5 separate regions of the Homo sapiens genome follow, and all the other regions are linked to region 5. The links are contacts of gene promoters, found by promoter capture Hi-C in blood cells and fetal thymus (Javierre and others, 2016). All regions are on one chromosome and are shown on one strand. Each heading gives the region's core, a stretch centred on a gene start or on the middle of the fragment in contact. The rest is flanking DNA. Distances are from core to core; before and after follow the strand shown.

Region 1 (2,700 bases), core at 134-2,633, 870 kb before region 5:
CTTCACTGTTAGGCCGTACGCGGTGGCTCACGCCTGTAATCCCAGCACTTTGGGAGGCCGAGGCGGGAGGATCGATTGGGCCCAGGAGTTCGACGTCGGTGAGCCATGATCGTGTCACTGCACTCCAGACTGGGCGACAGAGCGAAACCATACCTCATTCGTTCATTCATTCATTCATAATTAATAAAATAAGTACAACGCACTTCTACATAATCTAAGCGTATGGAAATCCACGGTATAAACCGGTCCATCCTCCACATGGAAATTAACTTCGGCTATATTATCTCCTCCACCTAAGAGCCAGTGCCTGAAAGCCCCCCCGAATACGCTGATGTAGCTTTTTACTGTATCACTTAGGTGAAAAGATTCTTTCCTTAAATATGAAAAGAAAAACTATGTAGTAATGACACAAAAAGAATATGTTAACTGTAAAGTCAAGATTATGAAATGTTCCCGTGGCTCAGTTTTTTTAGGAGCAATCTGGAGCTGCGAATTTTCCCGTCGCCGCCAGCTGGACCGACAGACAAGGCTGGAAAGGGTTATCAACATACCTGGAGGAAGCTGCAAATTAGCAGGAAACTGGATTGTCGTGGTGTTGGGGGCTTTCACGGCGACTATCTGAGGAGCAGGCAGCCTAGGGCCGCTGCTGACTTTAGGAGGGGCGCTGACCGGAGCCACTTTGGTCACCAGGGTCCCCACGGGGGACCGCAGGGGCTGGGACGCCGTGGGCTCCACGCAGACGCTGACAGGAGCCTTAGTCACGGCGCCCAGGGCCACCGGAGTGCTCTCCACCCGCACCGGCAGCGCCCCGGCCGGGGCCATGGTCACGGTCCCCGAGGCGCTCACAGCAGCCGGGGGAGCGGCGCCGGCGGGTTCGGTGAGGCCGGCGGGCATCCCCCAGGGGCTCAGCGGCAGCTTTGGCGCTGCGGTTCCGGGAGCAGAGGTGAGGGGAGGCTTGGCGCGCGGCAGCCGACTCCGGTGCGGTTCGGGTTCCACAGCATCGCTGGGGAGAGGCGCGGGGGCCGCAGCAGCGAAGTCAGTGACGGGCGCCCGCTGCACGGCAGGACACGCGCGTCCCGGACCTTCCTCTCGTCCGCGCGAGCCTGGGCTGCCCCCGGAGCGACACCCGCCCGACCTCTCGCAGCTTCCTCAGCGGCGCTCACACGTGCGCTGCCTCAGCCCTGCGCCTCAGGCTCGGGTCCCGCTGCGGGGGAGCCTGGACTTGCGGCTCCCGGAAGGTCGTCGCTCACACCTCGAGCCTAACTGCGCAGCTGCTCCCCCGCCAGAAATTTCAAAACTACGAACCCCGAGTGCCCACAGCCCCCTACGCGCGATTGGCACGGCCCCGCCGCGCGGCCACGCCAGCCATGTTTATATAGCCACGCGGAGACCTCGCGCACGCGCCCAGGCCGCCGCCACCGCCCCGGGTTTCCCCGGGATCCGGCCGCGTGATTGGCCAAGGAGCGGAGCCGCGCCCGTGACGTCACTGGGGACGGCTCCAGGGAGCGTTAAAATCTTCCCCAGAATCGCCAGCAAGGAGGGGCGATGCCAGAAACCTATCACGTGGGAGGGGCAAGCTGCACTTGGAAAACTGCGGCATCCGTGTTCCTCTCCTTGTGTCCCCTGTAGTGTGTTCCTCGAAAAGCCAGCACTAGACTATCTCCAGGATTCTATTTTTTAAGGAGAAAATGGGGAGGACTGATTTCCGAGAAGAGTGACTCAATAAGAATTCAATCACGCATTTTCAGTGTTTTTCTCTGCTGTCTTCACACTGAAGCGTTGCTAAAATTCGCAGTTAGAATTGACATTGTAAAAATTAAAATGGCGTATAGTTTTATAGTCTGTGAGATGTGCCTATTTTCATATTTTAGAGTTAAACTGCCTAAAATCTTAAATGGAAAATCGTTTCTTCTTTGGTGCTGCTATAGGTGTCTCTATCACCTCTAAACATTAAAATTGTATGTCTGTCTTCTGAAAAACTTAATGCCTTTTGATATCTATATAATTAGATTCTAGCACTTAGATATTAAGCGTGATCCTAGATATTATCTGGATAAATAAAAGGTGTTGAGTGAATCGATATGAAAAAACTTGCCTGTTTGTAATGCAGTCAGAGAAGATGCCTTAATTTCAAGCTAAAGTCATTATATTGTATGTTTGTAGGAACCAACACTGCACTGAAAGGCGATTTTACAAGTAGGCAGATGCTATGATCTGAATGTTGTGGTGTTTTGTTTTGTTTTGTTTTGTTTTGTTTTGTTTTGGAAACAGGATCTAACTCTGTCACCCAGGCTGGAGTGCAGTGGCACCATTGGCTCATTGCAGCCTCCACCTCCTGGGCTCAAGTGATCATCCTACCCTCCTACCTCAGATTCCCGAGTAGCTGGAACCACAGGGGAGCGGCACTATGCCTAGCAAAAACGGGATCTCGTTATATTGTCCAGGCTGGTCTCCAATTCCTGAGCTCCCGCCTGGGCCTCCCAAAGTGCTAGGATTATACCCCCAACTGAGTGTTAAAATGCTAAAGCTGGAGTTGATAATATTAGAAGGTTGGGCCTTTGAAAGGTGATTAGATCATAAGGGTGGAGCCCTCATGAATGGGATTCCATTCAGGACAAATCATGTTAAAGTGATGAATATGTTAACTTGATTTAATTATTTCACGACACATACAAATGTAACATGATACCTCATAAATAC
Region 2 (2,700 bases), core at 200-2,699, 930 kb after region 5:
GGAATCATAGCTCGCTGTGGCCTCAATTTCCAGGGCTTAATTAATTCTCCCACCTCAGCACCCCCAAGTAGCTGGGACTACAGGCACACGCTACCACACCAGGCTAATTTTTTGATTTGTTTTAGAGTGGAGGTCTCACTATGTTGCCCAGGCTGGTCTCAAACTCCTGGGCTCAAGCGATCCTCCTGCCTCAGCCTCCCAAAGTACTGGGATTACAGGCGTGAGCCACAGCGAAGGCCCTTTCCTCTACTTGTTTCTCAACATTCACTCAGGATCAGATTAGTATCGGTGTGATGGTTCTCTGAGCCTCTTCAAGTTCCTTCCCAATTTTCTACAGGCATTTCCCCTAACACATTTCTTGCATATTTAACTTCATTTTGGTATCTTCCTCTCCAAGAAGACTAGAACAAACTGCTCTAGGATACACTGTAACACAGGCAAATTCTGTCCATATGGTTTTGTTAAAATAATTAATTGGGAGGCCATGAGGCTAAGACAGTTCCATTGCCTTGTGTTTCTGAGTAAGCAAACAGAAATAGAACTCAGTGTAAACTTAAGCTTAACCAATCAGAAACCACTAAGTGACATCTAACTAGGGACTTTCTAGTTTAAGCCATCAAATATTTTCTTTATCTTGCTTCTGCAAACACCTTAGAAAAATTTCTCCCTCCCACCAATTTAGTGGAGTGTTGAACTGTTTGAGCTCTGGTGCTGCGTGATTCATGAATAGCTTCATTCTCAAACTCGTGACAATTTTAATGTGTTTATCTTTTAACAATATTAACTTACAATATTATCTGGTTCTGAAATATTTTTCTTAGGGAAATATGTCCTCAAAATATTTTAGAAACAAAACACAAACCATCTTAGTACACAATGATCTTTTCCCTCCTGTTCTCTGTGTGTTTACCTTAGCTCCCAGACAATGAAAGCCAAAATATAGCTGACTACAAGGACAATGAATGCTGAGGCTCTTCCTTCTCTTTGTGCTGTTCATTTGCTTACTCAATAATTTGACCCACTATGGCTGAAGATTAAAATACTGGATATTAAACTATAAGTTTTATGGAGAAGTTCTTGTCAAAGAAGTAATCAAGGAAACAGAGTCAATGTCAAGCAAGCAATTAGGGGAGAGAGAAAATCCTTTAATATTATAATTTCACCATAAGTAACACTGTATCCTGGGAAGATTAGCTGATAATTGTATAAACATAGTTAGAAAAAAATAATAGAGCCTGGCCTGGCATGGTGGCTCATGCCTGTAATCCCAGCACTTTGGGAGGCCGAGGCGGGCGGATCACTTGAGGTCGGGAGTTCAAGACCAGCCTGGCCAACATGGTGAAACCCCATCTCTACTAAAAATACAAAAATTAGCCAGGCATGGTGGCGTGTGTCTGTAATCCCAAATACTCTGGAGGCTGAGGCAGGAGAATCCGGGAGGCGGAGGTTGCAGTGAGCTGAGATCCCACCACTGCACTCCTGTCTGGGTGACAGAGCGAGACTCTGTCTCAAATAAATAAATAAATAAAATAATGGAGCCAGAGGCATTTCCTGACTTCAGGAGATTTGAAGGGAATGGAAGAGTGGCATCTCAGGTGTTATGTTAGAGTTCACCTAGAGAGGAACTGTGCTGTGTGGTAGGGACCCTGTTACACCACCTCCAGTCAGCACCCCCTTTTCAGAAACAGGTACTCCTATCCCCCAAGCAGTTTTGCAAGTACTTCATTGACCGCTACGGCAGGTTTGTTTCCCCAGTAACAGCATGTTCAAACAAGTGTTCCACAGTAATTCATCCGCCTGTAATCCTAGCACTTTGGGAGGCCAATGCAGGTGGATCACTTGAGCTCAGGAGTTTGAGACCAGCCTGGGCAACATGGTGAAACTTCATCTCTACAAAAAACACAAAAATTAGCTGGGCGTGGTGGCTCATGCCTCTAGTCCCAGCTACTTGGGGGGCTGAGGCGGAAGGATCAATTGAGCCCAGGAGGAGGAGGTTGCAGTGAGCCAAGATTGCTCCATTGTACTCCAGCCTGGGCAACAGAGTGAGACTCTGTCTCAAAAAAAGAATTAAATCTGATCTTTTTATTTTTTCATTTTCAAGAAGCATCTTCTTAATGAATAAACTTCTAGAAGGGATAGTTACAAGTTCTTTTGTTAATTATTCATTGAAACTTTAGCAAGGATTGGGTTATAGCCAACGGAGAACAGGTTCTTGGGTGGGAGTGGGAGTGGGTAAAGCCAGAGATAAGCCTTCCTCAGCACCATGCACCCTTAACTGCCACACTTGACTTCCTTACCTCTTTACGTGACATCTCAAATTTTTTCCCTCCAGAAGCTTTTTTGACTAAAAGTAGAAAATGGCCGTATGATTAGCTTCCCCATAACCTCAAAATCAATATTCAGAGGAGATGTGTGTGAAGTCAAAATTGTTGGTTAAGAAATACAAGTTATTTGCTTTTCCCTTTTGCCTCTGAGTGGAATGTTCTTCCCTTAAATCTTCAAATGGCCGTCGTGTGTGTGTGTTTGTGTGTGTGTGTGTCAGTCTCACTCTCACACAGGCTGGAGTGCAGTGACCTGATCTTGGCTCACTGCAACCTCTGCCTCCTGAGCTCAAGTGATTCTTGGGCCTCAGCCTCTCAAGTAGCTGGGATTACAGGTGCTCACCACCACGCCTGGCTAATTTTTGTATGTTTAATAGAG
Region 3 (2,700 bases), core at 201-2,700, 950 kb after region 5:
AACTCCATCTCAAAAAAAAAAAAAAAGATGGTTCAATATCCTTAGATAGTAAGCCCTGAGGTTTCTTCTTTTCCAGACAAATACAGCTGCTTTAGTTACCACACATTTTGCAGTTGAAGTATTGTGCTAGTAAAGTGCCTGCTTTGTTAATAAAAGATGATGCCAGCCTGAGATACACCAGCAGGATTGCTTGTGGTATCCAAAAACATCATTTCAAAAGATCTGCCATATGCTGTTTCACACATATCACAATGACCAAAAGGGCCTATTATAGGTTCTCAATACATGCTTCTAGACTTGATGGAAAAACTACAGTCCTTTTAAAAATGATACCTATTTATTACTTTTTCATTGCAAAAGAACATGTTCATTAAATACATTTAGAAAATTCAGGAAAGCAGAAATCAGTTTTCGTATGCTCGTAATTTCCTGTCTTTTTAGTTATGCAGAAATGCTTTTAAAAAGCAAAGCTGTGGCCTGCAGGGGTGACTCACGCCTGTAATCCCAACACTTTGGGAGGCCCAGGAGTTGGAGACCAGCCTGGGCAACATAGGGAGAGTCTGTCTCTACTAAAAATACAAAACTTGTCCGGGCGCGGCAGGGCGCGCCTGTAGTCCCAGTCCCTTGATTACCCGCCTGTAGTCCAGCTGAGGCCGGAGGATCGCTTGAACCCAGAAGACGATGCTGCAGTGAGCCGAGATCGCGCCACTACACTCCAGCTTGGGAGACAGAGTGAGACCTTGCCTCAAAAAAAGAAAAAAACAAAAACGGTGGAATTATACTAGAGTTTGAACCTTCACGTTATAGACTATTTGCTAACTCCTCTAGCTAGACGCCTTGTGCATGGAATCTGGAGGAGAGGAGGTGAGGAAATTTTGTAAATCCTTGTCTCACGCATATCTATTCTATAATGGTTACACCTGTATGGCATTTTAAGCGCTTCCTTTCACAGGTGAAAGTAAAAGGAGGTGTTTTTTTGTAAATTGTCTAATTTACATTGCCAATTAAGTTCCCACGGGTCGAGTTGCAGCCAAAGCAAAAAAGAAAAAAATCTGGGCAGCTGGATAACCTATTGCTTAATGACAGACTTCAGACTATTAACCCAGGACTTATATTTTGCCTGGGGACGCGAGTCTTCCACTGGCTCACACGGGCGGTTCCTTGTAGTCTCCGGGTAAGGCCTGCCACTTCTTCCCTCGGGGTGTGGTGGGAGGAGCGCGAAGGCTTTACGCGTCCCTAGTAGCTGGCAAAACCTGGAACCAGCGCCGGTGGCCCAGGCGGGACAGGAGCGGGCCGGGGGCGTGGGCAGGCCAGGCAGGGGCGGGGAGTGGGCGGGGAACGGGCGTGTCCCCGCTGCGGTCACGTGTCGGGAGGGATGCCAGCTCGCCAGGAGGATGCGCGTTCCAGGGGCGGGCTGCGGGGAGGGGCGGCGCCACCTCGCGCTCCGCCGTGGTCCCGGCGCCGGGTCCCGGAGACAGACGTTACGCGGGCTCGAGCGTCCTCGGGGAGTGCCAGCCAGAGTTGGTGACGACCACTTCCTCGACGTGGGGCGGGCGGACGGGAAGCCTGGGGTCGTGGCCACCGCCTCGGGAGCTCTGGGAGCCCGGGTGACCGCGTAGGTCAGTTTCTCGCGGCTGTCCACGCCTGGAGTTCGAGGCCGGTTCCCGCGCTGACGGGTTCCCGCCGGGCTGCGCTCGGGAGGTCTGTCCGCGCCTGGTTGGGGGTGGGCGCTCCCGTCCCGGGCGTCTCAGAGGATGGTCGGGTCGTGGCGCGGCGACGCAGGGCTGCAGCCGAGCTCGGCTTCCCGGCGGCCGCTGGCTGCTCCAGCGCTGCAGGAAGTTAGGCGTTAAAAGTAACAAGATGTTGGCGTTTGTTGCACTTCCCACTCGGGTGCCACGACCATGCTGGTGCCGCATGCATCCCCTACCAGATCTTCAGCTGCGTGCCTTCTCGGTACTTTCGTGTGTCCATGTGACTTTTTAATTTCCTCCTAACAAGAGGAGGATTGATGCACAATGGAAGTCACGCATTGTTCATGTGACCGTTTCCCAATGTACCGCGTGGTCGGTTCTACAAGCATGAACGAATATCCAAGGGAGATTCTGAAACTGAATGAGAGCGCAGCTGCACAATAGACTTTAACAATTCACTTATCCCGCTGCCCTAATGATTGGCAGGAGGCATTGAAAAGGGTTATTCTGATTTAGTATTAGTTTTCAGTTCAAGTTGTCGTTTTTAGGCAGACGGTATTGTGAAATGGAACTGTGGGCAGTGTGATATTCTTAGCTTAAATAAGGTTGCTTGAATGTTGCAAATGTGGCTATTAGGTGTCTGTGAATAGTTAATAATATAATTAAATCAGCTTTAAAATCGGTGATGTGTTTTCCCTGAAAACTTCAGTCTTTGCCCTGTAATAGGTGCATTCTGGATTTGGAGTTTGGAACCTCCTCACCTCTTTACTCAGCATCTGGGAAATAATTTGCAGATTCGTTTTGAGGGGTAGAAGTATTTGCAGTCTAACCCCGATACAATGAATTTTTTGCAGCAGTTTGATAGGTATAAATTCTGAACCACCCCCCTCCCTCCCCACCCCAAGCTGGAATTGTGAAGATTTCTTAATTACAGCATAGTAACAAAATCCACCTTTTAATTCCCTAATTCTAAACCACTAGGTGGGCTTTGTCTACAGTTTATAGGGGG
Region 4 (2,700 bases), core at 44-2,543, 740 kb before region 5:
GAATAACCGCATATCATGCCCAAGGGCACAGAACATGCTAAATGTGAAAAAAGAACATTTGATATTTAAGGTCAGCAGATTTCCCAAGGGTAGACTGCCCTATCAAGTACTTTGGATTATAGTCCTAAAATGTCCATTTTTCCTAATTATATTATTACATTGCAAATCTTGTCCTTGTTTAGTAATTTACAATATCCCATTAATTTTTACACACTTTATATGTTAAAATTGAGACAGTCTTAAAGGATCTAATGGAAGGTAATCGTTTAATTAAGGGATCTAATGTAAGGCACAGAGGCTAGTGCATAATAAATGCTAAATAAAAAAACATTATTTGTAATAGCTTTTTAGATATGGCAGCTGTTTTTCAGGAAGTCCAGTGAGATACAGAAATGACCTGTCCAGTATTATGCCATGGGTAGAAGAATTGGGAACTCCAAACCTATGCATCTTTCACAAAGAGTGAAAGCTTTCCATAGGAACTAATTTTTTTAAAAAGCAATACTTTTCTATATCATTAAACCCAAAAATATAATTGATTCAGTTCATAATTAATTCTATATTTGGCACTATAAGAGGAGATGAAAATGCCTCCAATAGGCTTTGTTATAGTCTACTTTGAATGAAATCTTCCATAGTATCAAAAATAAAAGTCCTTTACGGAGAATTGGGAAAGGTGATTTGTTCTTGCCTGAATAATGATTATATAAATATATAGATGTATGCTTCTTTCTTTACAGTCTTGAAATCTGTGGGAGCCACAACTCAAATTGACTCATCAAATGCCACAGGGACTGTGAACAGAAATATTTTGAAAGATATTACCTGAAGGGTTTTGCTCTGAGCCCAGTTATGAGCAGACAGGCTTGGTCTATGCCTTCTCAATGTATTCTAAGAATTTATGACAGCTCAGGGGCTTAAAATATCAGCACATTTGGTAGTGCAGATACTCTATTAATTCTAAAACAATACATATTAAAGAAATGCTTGTATGAAAGCAAGATTATTTTAGTTACCTATTCGTACATATTTTTTGTGGATTAAGATAATTTTTAATGCCATGATTATATAGTTTCACCAAATATTGAACATATTACAGGAGCACTTCACTTTGTCAATTCATAAAAATATATTTAAGGAATACACGGTCAGGTGTGGTAGCTCATGTCTGTTCTCCTAGCACTTTGGGAGGCCAAGGTGGGTGGATCGAGACCAGGAGTAAAGCAGTTCAAGAACAGCCTGAAAAAAATGGTGAAACCCTGTCTCTATCAAAAAATACAAAAATTACCCAGGCATGGCGGTGCATGCCTGTAGTCCCAGCTACTCGGGAGGCTGAGGTGAGAGGATCGTTTCAGCCTGGGAAGTCGAGGCTGCAATGAGCTGAAATTGTGCCACACTCCAGCCTGGGTGACAGAGTGACACCCTGCCTCAAATATATATGTGTGCGTGTGTATGGGGGGCGGGGTGTATTTTAAGGAGTACAAATTTATATAAAAATTGAAACAAAAAATCAAACATGAACAATTTTTTTTAATCTTTGTTAAATCTGCCTACTTCATATTCATTAGTGTGAGTAATCAAGAATTAACTGTTCACACAGATTATTTTTCTTATTCTGACCCACTCTATATGTTCTTCAATTTAGGATTATTCCAAACTCCTTCTACCTCTTGGTTATGTGAGTTGGATTCCTTCTTTAGATGTCTCTCATTCAAGAGCAGTTTAAATAGTGGGACTGATTTTTTTGGTTGGGGAGATGGTTGCCTGAGTATCTTACCTTTAAGTCCTTAGAGTCCTTTCCCAGTCTTAGGCCAACTTCCCATATTTGTTCTCCTTTTCTTCGTAACTAAATGCTAGGGACTGTTTATTCTCCTTCTACCAACTCTGCTGCCACTCAGTCTACCTTGGGATTCCTCTTAAAACTAGTGGTCAGGTGAGATGGGACTTATTATGTTCCCCTAAGTATCCCCTAGCTCAGGACTCTTACATTACAAAGGCCCCAAAATTTTAAGAAAGATCTTCCAGGCTTCAGTCTCAATCTTTCCTCTTTCCGAATTTTCTATTTTTCCAGGTCAGGCTAACTGATTGGATTGATTGGGTTTTAGCAAGGAAGCTTGAGGGTGAAGTAGTTCTTTTTAAGTATCCTCTCTCAAGGAGATCATTTGTATTTCTGGCTGGACTTATAGAACAATGCTTTTCAACTGATTTCATGTGATCAGACACAGAAAATAATGGTATCTTTATGGCATACATGGTGTCACAGAAAAGACTGTGGCTATCCATGCCTGCAGGCTATGGGTTCTCTGGGCCCTACCCTGCTACTCTGAAGAAATAAACATCTCAGGCCAACTGTAACCTGTTTTCAGTGGATTTCCCTTTCTCACCTTTGGGGAGCTGTAATTTAAATAAAGAAGGTAACTAGCTCCAGGTGCCTCCCTGGAATAGAAGCCCCCTTGGACTACTTATTTTTTTGCTGGGATATGGAAATTAGACAAGTGTTCCTACTGGTTCATGTTGCCCTTTGAAGTTTCAGTGCTATCTGCCAAATGCACAGAACTGGAGCAGTAGGACTATTTACGATTCATGTTTCCTATTGAAATACTGTTCTTAGCTACTAAGTACTAAGGTACTTTTGTGTAAAGCATTGAGACATGACTCTGCATGCTAGGTGTTGAGTGCACAGTGATAGTGGTAGACAAG
Region 5 (2,700 bases), core at 95-2,594:
TAATTATAATGAAGATATTGAAAAAAAACATACTGTATTTGCAGCTATCCACATGAGGGTCCAGGCAGTTTACAGGTTAGACTGGAAAAAATACAACTTCCTTAAAGCTTTGATGTCTTTGCATGGTGGCTTAATAGATAGCTGTACCTTAATTTTACAGAACGGAGAATTTTTAAAATCTGATTAAGAACAATAGTATTTGTACAAAATTCTGCCTGTTTTGTGTAATTAACCGTATTCTGAATCTCTTAATTTCCACCAAGACTTGTGAATCTAAGCTCTACTTGGTAGCCCTCTCAGGCATTTATAACTTGACAAGCGTGTCCAATCAATAAATAGCAACAACAATAATAATACTAAAACATCCTTTCCCTTAAGATAAGGTAAAAGAAGGAAACAGGTGATGGTTTCTTGTTTTGCGATGGGAGCAGGTGAAAAGTTAGAAAACAAAACTGCGAAAAGAAACAAAAATTCCCACCGACCTGCAGACATTTCAATTTATTTTAGAAACTATTTTCTTGTACACATATTCTTAAGTGCATATTTCCTTACCTCTTGCTTAAAGAAAAAATCAACAGAAAGCTTTATTTTCTGGACAAAGATCTATGTCAATTTGAGAATGTTAAAAAAGTGAACTCAAAGCTGTCTCTTTTGAATCACATTATGACATTCGTCAGCATCAATGACTTTCTCTAAACGAGAAAATAAAAAAAAAGTCCAAATAACTTGCCTTTATAAAGATTCCAAGTAAGAGAGACTTGGCAGGTCTGCGGTTGCCATAAAAAAGATTTCCCGAGTCCGGGCAACAACAGCAGACACACTTTTTTAAAGTCCGACAATGCAAAAGCCAAGCAATGAATTTCCCCCCTCCTTTCTTTTTCTTTTTCTTTTTCTTTTTTTTTTTTTTTTTTTTTGCCCCCTCAAGAACAAATTGTTGCCTCCTTTTACATCCATCCTACCAGAAGGGGGACCTTTCCACTTTCAGATGCTCCTCTGCTTTAATTTCTGAAGAGGAAAAAAAGCGAGCAGAAGAGCCCCGAGATCCGCCGTGGAGCTCTAATAACGCAGCTGCGGCGGCGGCGACGGCGGCGGCGCGGGGTGTGCGAGCGGCCGGGCGGGCGGCGCGAGGGGCGGCGGCGCAGGAGCGGGCGGGGCGCGCGGCGCGTGGGAGGCGGCGGCGGCGGCGGCGGCGGCGGGCGGGGCTCGGGGCGCTCGGCCGCCGCCTGGCTCCGGATCCGCGCGCCGCGGCCGGCGCCTCCAGTCCGGGTCTTGGCGGGCCCCCTCCTCCCTCCCGCTCCCCGCGCTCTCGCCTTTTAATCATGCCCCTCTGTCTGTGTGTGAGTGCAGGCAGGCTGACAATGATTTCCTCAGTGATTACGTACAGAGCGAGTCCCTGCGGGTTAGGGGCCCCCTCTGGAGCCATCCTGATGGCTTTGGGGGCCTTGCTTCCATTTTCCATTATTATGTGGACTACCGGAGCGACAGCGCAGTCCAAGACCTTGCAGGTTTGTGATGAGGAGGGAGCACACAGCACACTCCTTCTCCTCCTCCTGCTCCCGGCTCTCCTCCTCCTCCTCCTCCTGCTCTCGCCGCCGCTGCCGCCGCCGCTGCCGCCGCTGCTGCCGCCGCCGCTGCCGAGGCAGCCGTAGACTTTAGAGCCCCGGTCCAGCGCCAGCCGCCGGCGCCGCGCCCCCGCCCAGAGAGGGGCGCCCCGAGCCCGGGCCCCGCACACCCCCTGCACACAAGCAGCCCCGCACACCACCTGGGGGCCGTCGGCTCGGGTGCTTTGGCTTTTTCTTTTTGAAAGAAATTACTTTAGTGTGGGTTAAGAAAAAAAGGGTGGGGGGAAGGGAGAAAAAAAGTATTTTTTTCCCTTTGCTTATTTTCGTGGCCCGTTCGCATCTGCCTCGGATGGTGGGAGATTTTTCTTTCCAAGACCTTTTCATCGCCTTGCAGGGTCGATTTCCCCCCCTCGTCCCCCCAACTACAAAAGAGCACGACTCGCTTTGTAAACAAATCAGTGTTATTTGTTTTTTTCCGGTGGGGGGGGGGGCGGATTTGTTGAAAAGGAAAAGCGGTAAAGAAAAAAAAAATCACCCAGACGCTTTTCTTTTTATTAGTTTTTTTCTATTCGCATGAACTATGTGAATTTTGATTGAGGTGGAAATAGTAACGGATTTTCTCTTTTTAGTGTAGCTGACGGCTCTTCAAACATTGTCTTTGGGGTTTTTTTTTTAGCTTTTTTTCCCTCCTTTCCTTTTTTCTTTTTCCTTTTTTTTTTTTTTTCTTGGAGATTGGGGGTGGGGGTCGAAGGCTGGGAAAGTTTGGTGCAGCAGCCGCCGCCGCCGCCGCCGCCGTCGTGCAGAGCGCGGAGCTCGGGCAGCCGCGAGCCCCGCGCGCGAGCGCGAGCCGGAGCCGGAGCGAGGAGCGGAGCGCGGAGCGAGGGCGCGAGGGAGGCCGAGCGGAGGGCGCGAGGCGCCGCGGCCCGAGGGGCGCGCGGCCACGAGGAAGTATAGTTTCTTTCAGGGCTGAATTGAAACAACTTCAGCTGTTTGCTTTTAGGATGTCTCGCCGCAAGCAAGCGAAACCGAGATCCCTCAAAGGTAAGGAGGAACCCCCTGCTCCCCGCTTTCCCCCATCCGCGAGTGTCACTGTGGGTAGCGGAGCGAGGGCTGCGTGGCTGCGAGGCGTGTGCGCGCG

What was found. The method cuts DNA at HindIII sites, captures the fragments that hold promoters and counts their contacts. A CHiCAGO score of 5 or more calls a contact.
Region 1: the fragment with the promoter of TAF4B here is called in contact with the fragment with the promoter of ZNF521 in region 5 in 1 of 17 cell types (total B cells); the score reaches 5.4 in total B cells.
Region 2: a contact is called between a fragment that was not itself captured here and the fragment with the promoter of ZNF521 in region 5, in 1 of 17 cell types (monocytes). The highest score is 7.3, in monocytes.
Region 3: the fragment with the promoter of OSBPL1A here is called in contact with the fragment with the promoter of ZNF521 in region 5 in 1 of 17 cell types (monocytes); the score reaches 10.5 in monocytes.
Region 4: a contact is called between a fragment that was not itself captured here and the fragment with the promoter of ZNF521 in region 5, in 1 of 17 cell types (fetal thymus). The highest score is 5.1, in fetal thymus.

Annotation. Positions count from the first base shown.
Region 1 is chr18:26,225,128-26,227,827 of GRCh38, reverse strand. TAF4B (TATA-box binding protein associated factor 4b) reads right to left here and starts at 1,383. Exons shown (of 15, transcript NM_005640.3): 1 at 552-1,383. The coding sequence starts at 894. RefSeq lists a silencer at 744-903 and enhancers at 1,554-1,653, 1,684-1,753. The HindIII fragment of the contact is 8,704 bases long and covers 1-2,700 here.
Region 2 is chr18:24,419,809-24,422,508 of GRCh38, reverse strand. No RefSeq gene overlaps it. Among named protein-coding and RNA genes, the nearest start is that of IMPACT, 5.5 kb to the left of the region's middle. The HindIII fragment of the contact is 1,777 bases long and covers 561-2,337 here.
Region 3 is chr18:24,396,574-24,399,273 of GRCh38, reverse strand. It overlaps OSBPL1A (oxysterol binding protein like 1A), which reads left to right and starts at 1,450. Exons shown (of 28, transcript NM_080597.4): 1 at 1,450-1,619. All of the region lies in intron 2 of LOC124904268 (a long non-coding RNA gene), which reads right to left. RefSeq lists a silencer at 1,387-1,516. The HindIII fragment of the contact is 23,089 bases long and covers 1-2,700 here.
Region 4 is chr18:26,092,533-26,095,232 of GRCh38, reverse strand. No RefSeq gene overlaps it. Among named protein-coding and RNA genes, the nearest start is that of SS18, 3.3 kb to the right of the region's middle. The HindIII fragment of the contact is 1,644 bases long and covers 472-2,115 here.
Region 5 is chr18:25,350,810-25,353,509 of GRCh38, reverse strand. It overlaps ZNF521 (zinc finger protein 521), which reads left to right and starts at 1,344. Exons shown (of 8, transcript NM_015461.3): 1 at 1,344-1,505; 2 at 2,563-2,603. The coding sequence starts at 2,564. RefSeq lists a silencer at 1,249-1,318. The HindIII fragment of the contact is 3,815 bases long and covers 585-2,700 here.